Regions from separate parts of the Homo sapiens genome. Here region 2 is linked to region 1. The links are contacts of gene promoters, found by promoter capture Hi-C in blood cells and fetal thymus (Javierre and others, 2016). All regions are on one chromosome and are shown on one strand. The core of a region is centred on a gene start or on the middle of the fragment in contact, and the rest is flanking DNA. Distances in the headings are between cores, read along the strand shown. Region 1 holds the start of MAP2K6 (mitogen-activated protein kinase kinase 6). Region 2 overlaps VCF1 (VCP nuclear cofactor family member 1).

What was found. The method cuts DNA at HindIII sites, captures the fragments that hold promoters and counts their contacts. A CHiCAGO score of 5 or more calls a contact.
Region 2: a contact is called between a fragment that was not itself captured here and the fragment with the promoter of MAP2K6 in region 1, in 1 of 17 cell types (total CD4 T cells). The highest score is 7.5, in total CD4 T cells.

The regions. Positions count from the first base shown.
Region 1 is chr17:69,412,600-69,417,022 of GRCh38, reverse strand. MAP2K6 (mitogen-activated protein kinase kinase 6) reads right to left here and starts at 2,326. Exons shown (of 12, transcript NM_002758.4): 1 at 2,023-2,326. The coding sequence starts at 2,038. The HindIII fragment of the contact is 8,167 bases long and covers 849-4,423 here.
Region 2 is chr17:73,223,104-73,227,311 of GRCh38, reverse strand. It overlaps VCF1 (VCP nuclear cofactor family member 1), which reads left to right. Exons shown (of 4, transcript NM_001098832.2): 2 at 48-147. Among named protein-coding and RNA genes, the nearest start is that of VCF1, 7.2 kb to the left of the region's middle. The HindIII fragment of the contact is 3,043 bases long and covers 1-2,883 here.

The sequences.
Region 1 (4,423 bases), core at 1,077-3,576:
GGACCACCAGTACCTGATCCATTGTAAACACATCCATAGGGAAGAGTGCAGTGCTAATATCTCCTTTGGCTTCTCAACTCAAAAACTGGCTCTACTAAGAGGGAGCCACGTTCATAGTGAGCCCAAAAATATGCAAAAAGGAGCCTGATTTAGTTTAGACCCTAAAGTCCAAAGATAAGATCACAGTAAACACCACCCTCTTCATAAACCTTCCTGACTATCCCCCAAATAGATAAATCACTTCCATTTTTAAACTCCAATAGCACCATTTCTCTTCAATACCTGTCCTATTATCTTGTATTATAATGATTTCCTTACATTCTTGTTTTCACCAACCCGAAGGAAAAACTTCATTTTAAATATTTTTGTGTGTCCCTAAATCATGTGCACACATACACACACAATACATACATATACATGCATATATATACACACATACATATGTATATACATGCATATCACAATATATTACACATATATTAAACTGAATTGAATGAATGAGCGAATGTTTACCAAATACAAAGTAACTAAATGCCATCTCTTTAATACATCAAAGCATGGACTGCCTCTTCTGAACTATTATTTCTCTACTCAATAAGGAGATTTTTAGGTTTTCCCCACTTGAGGAACATCTCCACCTGATATGTCAATTCCTAGGTTCTTCAGCACTCTTAACTTTTCAGATTTCCATTCTCCCCTAATACTCAAAGAAAAGCAGAGTGCTACTTTGAATGCTTGAGATTACTACTTCCTTCTTGGGCTGCTGAGATATATGACTCCCATCAGGTAGAATTAAAAAGCGGTGCAACAACTCCCCACACTCCCTCCCAAAAAAGTAGCAAAAAGCTTGTTAGACCCTTTAATTTCACCATGTCTTACTCAAAGAGTGCCCCGGGTAGCCTAATTCAATAGTATCTAACACCTCTCTTCATCATCCCATACTTCTCATATGGCATATGCTTTCTCTATGGTAAAGAAACAATTGTTCTGAAACAAGTGACTTGGGGTCCCAGGGGCACCTGACAGCACCTAGTCTGCTCTTTGATGTCATATCAGGAATTTTTTAAATCCCCTTCCCAGGGTGACATTAAGCCTGCAAAATACAACTGTGTTTAAAAACAAAAATTAAGAAAAGAAAATAAAAGAACATAAAGAAAACAACCATAACGTGAACTTCCAACCTATTACAGCTGACTAAATACACGCAGTTACACACTTAAAATATTTCATTATGCTTGTCAATGAAACAGTGCAGTCCCTTCACACTACTGTAATGCTTAAAAGTACAGTTTTACCCCCAATATTTTCCCCCAAGATGCAAAGCATCCCCCAAATGGGCAGACATAAAACATTAGGTCTTCACTGCTGCTTCTAAATTTTGCGAGCCAATAAGCAATTGGTGTAAAGTGCAAAATCTCAGAAGAGCAAGACTCGTCTGCTTTTTTGTGATATGCTGTTATTCACCCTTCACCTTTACTTCCTTTAAAAATCAAAAGTTACCTAATGTTCAAGGCGATATCAATGGAAATTTAGCTAAATACTGGCACCGCAACGGTCTATTTCCCCCAAAGAATATAAGATTACATTAATTTCCTAGTAGTTTAACTCAAGTTTTACCTTTCATCTTCACCTATAGAGTTTTTAAAAGTTTCTATTCCTGTTGCATACAAAATTACTTACAATATCTGTGCATAGTAAAGAATTTTACAATTATATAAAGCCTTGCACATTTAGACGCTACCAACCTGCTCTGTCTCTCCTGACTGTGCAAAAGGCAAAAAGAGCTCAGTAATCCTAGCAGAAGAATGCAAATAACGTCAATGCACAGCTGAACTGCAAGCCCTGCCTTACAGGAACTCTCTGTGTCTGCAAAAAAAGACACATACTAAACAGGAAATGCAACTGAGCTGTGGAAAACCTCAAACTTAAAAATGCACTCGCCAGGCGAAAATTGCATCCATGCATTCATAAATGCATGCACAACCCTTTGCATTTTTGCAACTAATGCAAACAGCCTCTTACCTTTCGACTGAGACATTTTCCCCTTTCCTTTGATGGGGGAGGGGAGCACAAAAGACTTTGCCTTGCTTCTCTTCTGTAGCTAGTTTTGCAACAAAGATGCAAGCTGCAGGCGTGCAATCTTCATGCAAGTGGAGTTTCTCTTGACCGATGCAGCAGATGGACTTTCAGGGAATCAAGATGGAAATGCACACCTTGCAAAACAGACTGGAAAGTGATTTTTCCCCCAGTTGCAACGTTAGGGAAGGCTGTGCTGCAGCTACATGATGGGCCAGGGCTGGCAGCTAAAAGCTCCAAACTTGGAACTGAGTATCTTAGTGCGCAGACGTCCTTCCTGCGAAGGGCGCGAAGGCCGCTGGGTAATGTAGTTCTCCGGCGGAGTCCACGGGGCTCTGATTTAAGGAAACGTGGTCGCCCCGGTCGCTGAGCGAGATAACTGGGTGCGACAAAGATTGCGTCCAGATAAACAAGTCAGACACACACTCAGTAGAGTGATGGGTGAAAAGCGGCAAGGCCAAGACGGGGCGGCAGTTTTGTTCTCGAAAAGCCTCTGAAACAACAGCTAAAGAATATTAGGTTAGCTAAAGAGCTTTTGGCTTGTCGAGAAGGTCTGTTTGGGAGTTTAGTGTGTTGATTTTGCAGCTCAGCACCTGTTGTGCTGTTCTTGCCTGTAGACGTTTTACCCTCACACCTCCGTTTTTTGTTTGTTTGGGGGTTTTTTTGTTGTTGTTGTTGTTGTTTTTTTCCCGAGAGGGAGTCTCGCTCTGTCGCCCAGGCTGGAGTGCAGTGGCGCGATCTCTGCTCACTGCAACCTCCGCCTCCCGGGTTCAAGCAATTCTCCTGCCTTAGCCTCCCAAGTAGCTGGGATTACAGGTATGCGCCACCACGCCCGGCTAATTTTTAGTAGAGACGGGGTGTCAACATTTAGCCAGGCTGGTCTCGAACTCCTGACCTTATGATCCGCCCACCTCGGCCTCCCAAAGTGCTGGGATTACAGGCGTGAGCCACCGCGCCCGGCCACACCTCCATTTTTAAAAACATTTTTTCTAGTAAGAAAAATGTATGGATGATTGGGTTGGCTGGAGGTAAGGTTACCTTTGCTCTGTGGAGAAGATGCAAAGTTTTATTTTGTCAGAAACAATCCAGGTCAGTTATTTCCAAGGAACCCGAAACTCAGTAGGGGGTAGGTGTGGGGAAGAAGATTGGAGGCTTCTCATTTCTCACAGGGTTACAGAGGAAGTTCTGCTTTTTATACATCAACGCTAACTTTATCAAAATTAAGGTATCTAGATGATTTTTTCTCACCTGGGAGGAGAGTCCCTGGCCTAGGGGGAAAGTGGGTGGAAAATGAATACAGTCGAATATCTTGAATTTATTCATTAAAATTAAAAGATACTTGTTGAGTGTCCAGGATGTGCCAGGCGCCTTTCTAGGGCCCTGGGATGTTCATTCATTCTGTACCGCTCACACATAGTGGGTACACAGCACCCTGATGGAGAACGGCATCACCTTTTTCACAAGGAAGCCAGAGATGCTTAGCACAATTCACTGCAAGGAATGGAGAGGAGTGAGCAGGGCATGGGCAAAAATGAGCTCGGACTTATACTTCATGGAGCAGACAGACTCAGAAATGTTCTTTTAAGACAGAGGGAGGAATTGAGGAATTCAAGGAGGTGTGGACAAAGCACTGTGGCAGAAATAAGGACAACCTTACTCAGAAGCTGCCAAGGAGACCTTGTTGCCTTGTGTGCAGGAGTGGTGAGGGCGGGGGAGATTTACAGGTGAGGACTCCACAGGGCCTTAAAAGGTGGGCTAGAGGTTTGGACTTTATTCTGCAGGTACTTGCGGGGAGGTGAAAGGGTCTTGCAAAGGGGCGTAACTTAATCCAAGCATTGTTTTAAGAAAGTAAATTTGCCCTCAGCAATCAAGGTGGGTTGGAACTGGGAGAGGCTAGAGATAGGTTAGGTCAGTAGTGAAAGGCAAAAAGAGGCACTTTGAAAGAAGATTCAGCTAGATTTGATGATTACTAATGAAAACTATTGGAATTGTATTTAGGATGCTGGAAGCCAGGACCATCTGCATAAGGGATGCATTAGAGGGAAGGAAGCCGTCTTATTTCAGCTGCAAACCAGCAAATCAAATCTTAAATATGCAATAGGTTGTGAGACTAACATTAATTTACTTAAGTTGGTCCCCTTTACTGACATTCTTGACAATTAGTGAAGGCAATCTAATCTCCATATTAGCTTCTGCCCCTAAGAGGAAGGCATTGCTGGTCTGTGAACACAGGTGCAAGGACTTTCTAACTCTTTTATTGTCCTTCTAGGCTAATCCATGTTGTCCCTTCCCTCCTATCGTATACACACAAGCTCAGCACCCCCTCAAACCAGCATGGTTTCCTAAG
Region 2 (4,208 bases), core at 113-2,612, 3.8 Mb before region 1:
TCGGTTGTTTGGGTTTTTTTTTTTTTCTCCTTGTGATTTAATTTCAGGAAAAGGAGAAGGAATGGCAACGAAGAAGACAACCATCTTCCCCCCCAGACCAAAAGAAGTAGCAGAAACCCTGTCTTTCAGGATTCCTGGGACACAGAGGTAGGAAGTGTGGTCACATAGTCTGTTGTTTTCACTGCTTGAGTTAAATAACCTAGTATCTGCTGTGTAATTAAATTTACTTAAACAGTAATTTAAAATGACCTTAGTTGATTATACTGGTTTAACCTTTCTGTTTCCAAATCAGGGTCCCTTTGAGGAAGCTGTGTACCCTGTCCCCAGCAAAACAGTACATATGTGCACATAGTCATATATGTACACACTCATTTGTATTTGTTAGAAATTTCGTGGCTTTTTGAAAGCCTATGTTTGAACTCACTGTTTTGTATTTCAGCAGCGAACTTCTTTTCTGGTAGTTTATAAACCATGAATTGTCCTTAAGATAAACATATTTTGTTGCTTCAATTCAAATGCCTTTTAAGAGAAACTTTAAGCATGTAAAATATGTAAGGTATGTGTATGCAGAATCCCATTTCTCAGTGTTTTTACTTTTCATTATCTTGTTGTGAAAAGAGCTCCTGTGGTGAGAGGGAAGGGGAGTTGGGTGTTCTGGAACTTTTTTACAATTTTTGATTTCATGAAAGAGTGCTTCAGTACGCAGACTGAGGATACATTTTCTGTGCAATTGGAAGGCTGCTCTGTGCTGGGGAAAGGAAACCAATATAAAGTAATGCTGCTATTAAGTTATGCACCTAGAGATTTTGACCCTTAACAGTTGTCACACTAAGAGAAAAGCCTCAACAACAAAGAGCCCTAGCCTCATAACTCACAGTAGAATTCTCCCACACCCAAATAATTTGTACTTTAATTAGTTCCTGATAATAGGATTTGACCTATATCCAGTCTGTCTTTGCCAGCAATTCAAAGTAACTCCCCCAAGGGGGAAAAATCAGGAACTTTCATGTAGGTAACAGTCATTCAGAGACAGTGAACAAGTGCAGAGTAGAATCCTTCTGTGTGGAGACCTGAGTTTCTATAGCTGTTTTTCCTCTTCAAATATTTTCCTGGCCGAGCGCAGTGGCTCATCCCTATAATCCCAGCCCTTTGGTAGGCCAAGGTGGGCAGATCACGAGGTCAGGAGTTCGAGACCAGCCTGGCCAACATGGTGAAACCCCATCTCTACTAAAAATACAAAAAATTAGCTGGGTGTGGTGGTGCACGCCTGTAATCCCAGCTACTTGGGAGGCTGAGGTGGGAGAATGGCTTGAACCCAGGAGGCAGAGGTTGCAGTGAGCTGAGATCGTGCCGTTTTACTCCAGCCTGGGCAACAGAGCAAGACTCCGTTTCAGAAAAAAAAAAAAAAAAAATATATATATATATATATTATATATATATATATTTTTTTCCTATTTGCTTTTTTCTTTTCTTTTTAAAAAATGATTATCAGAAAGGTAATTGAGCTTTGTTTAATGTAATAGTTGGGAATCTCAGGGATGAAAGAAAACAAGATTAGAGGCTACCATGAATATCTAATGATAAAACCCTGTAATAGTAATTGAGTTTCCATTCTTTTGAATTGTAAGACTATTCATTAAAAGAGTATGCAAAGATTACTTCTATGGTGTTGGCCATCAGTATTTCCTTACTTGTGTCTGTATGTAAGTCCTGCTATATGATGTTCATTTCAGTCAAGGGTATGGTAGGTCTAACTCTCTGTATTAACGTTTTTTTCCCGTATCTGCCAGTTTTGAAGCCTGAGAACAGCAATAGAAATTGCCATCTTTTTCTTGCTTTTGTCTCTTGGTTAAAAAAAAAGAAAGAAATTGTCATCCTTTTTTAAAAAAATTAACATTTCTGATCTCTTAAGTAAGGCAGATATTGTAGATTTTTAAATTTTATTTATTTATTTATTTAGTTTTTGGTACAAAATGACCTTTACTCTCTTTCTAAAATCCGTGCATTGGTCTCACAGAAGAAAACAACGTCTTGTTACTCAACCTCCTGGGTTCTCTAGCTGAGCTTGTCCTTACTTGTCCAAAGAAATTCAGTTGTTGAGCCACTCCGTAATCATTATCTGAAGGAAGGACTAGATTGTCTTCCTTATCGTTTAAGGTCATTACTGGTAGTTTCTGTCTGAACTCACTGGTAGATCACCTAATGGGGTGTTACAACCATTAGTTTCAGCCTTGCTTACTGAACATTGACCAGAATAGCCTGCTGTGCCGTCCTGTGCTGTCCTGTCCTGTCCTATCCTATGCTGTCCTGTCCTGTCCTGTGCTGTGCTGTGCTGTGCTGTGCTGTGCTGTCCTGTCCTGTGCTGTGCTGTGCTGTGCTGTCCTGTCCTGTCCTGTCCTGTCCTGTCCTGTCCTGTCCTGTCCTGTGCTGTGCTGTCCTGTCCTGTGCTGTCCTGTCCTGTCCTGTCCTGTGCTGTGCTGTGCTGTGCTGCGCTGTGCTTCCTGGCAGTGGTATTAACAAGTAACAAGGACAAGTGAATGATGAGAGAGCCAGAGAAGCAAAAGGCAGAGGGAATATCTTTTAAAATGGAAAGTTAAGCCCCAAATAATGAAGTTTTCACTACTGGAATAAATGATTATGTTTGTAGCAGCAAAAAATCAAGTTTAGGGACATTTGGCTGGTTTTTGATGATTGTGTATAAAAGGGAAAATAAAACAATTCATTTTTAATTATATTAACAATTTAGACAAAATATTTTATTAATAACATTACTAATGAAAATGTTTTCTTTTAATTCTGAGGTAGGGCCATGAGGTCAGTTTCCTTGAAACTTAAGTTATGTAAGAGAAACCATTTCCTATGTTTTCCCTGAATGAATAAGCTTTGTCACCCAGACTGGAGTGCAGTGGTGTGATCTCAGCTCACTGCAACCTCTACCTCCCAGGCTCAAGCAATACTCCTACATCAGCCTCCCAAGTAGCTGGAACTACAGGCACATGCTACCATGCTGGGTTAATTTTTTAAGGTTTTTTTTTTTTTTTTTTTTTTGGAGAGACGACGTCTCACTATATGGCCCAGGCTGGTCGTGAACTCTTGGGCTCAAGCGATCCTCCCACCTCAGCCTCCCCAAAATGCTGGGATTACAGACTTGAGCCACCATGCCTGGCTAGAATTCCCTTCCTTCCTTCCCTCTGTTCTCCCCTCCCCTTCTCTCCCCTACCTTCTCATCCCCTCCCCTCCACTTTCTTCTCTTCCCCTCCTTCCTCTCTTCCTTTCTCCCTCCCTCCCTTCTTCCCTCCCTCCTTTCCTTCCTCCCTTTCTTTCTTTTCTTTCTGGCAGGGGCTCCCTCTGTTGCCCAAGCTGAGTGCAGTGGAATGATCATGGTTCACTGTAGCCTCAACCTCCTGGGCTCAAATGATCCTTCCTCTTCAGCCTCCTGAGGTGCTGGGACTACAGGGATGTGCCACCAAACCTGGCTAATTTTTTTAATTTTTTGTAGAGACAGGGTCTTGCTGTGTTGCCCAGGCTGGTCTTGAACTCCTGGCCTCTGACCCTCCTCCACTGGGCCTGGCCAAATTCTTTTTCTTATTTTCTTTTTTTTGTTAACCTGGCTGTTTAAGAATTCTTTTTCTTATAACTTGAACTTCATGAGGAATTTTTTTTTTAATTCTAAGAGAGATTTAAAAGTTACTTACAATTCATTTCTAAAAGTTAACCTTTTTGCTTAAGTACAATAATAATGGCGAGTACTAGGAAATATGTGAGGTGTTTTATTTATGTTAAACCATTAAATTGTGCCACAAGTAAATCACAACTATCTGTACAGTGGAGATAATAGTATCTGCCTCTTCTTTCCTAGATACTATAAAGCTAAATAATGTGAACTGATTTGCCGGATTAGTTATATAGAGAGAAACTTCATGTGTGCATAAATTAATGTGTGCATAAATGGCTTCTTTCCCCCATTTTATTTTTTTATTGTTTATTGTTTTTTGAGAGGGAGTTTCACTCTTGTTGCCCAGACTGGAGTGCAATGGCGCAATCTCGGCTTGCCATAACCTCTGCCTCCTGGATTCAAGCGATTATCCTGCCTCAGCCTCCCGAGTAGCTGGGATTACAGGCATGTGCCACCACACCCTGCTAATTTTGTATTTTTAGTAAAGGCAAGGTTTCTCCATGTTGGTCAGGCTGGTCTTGAATTCCTGACC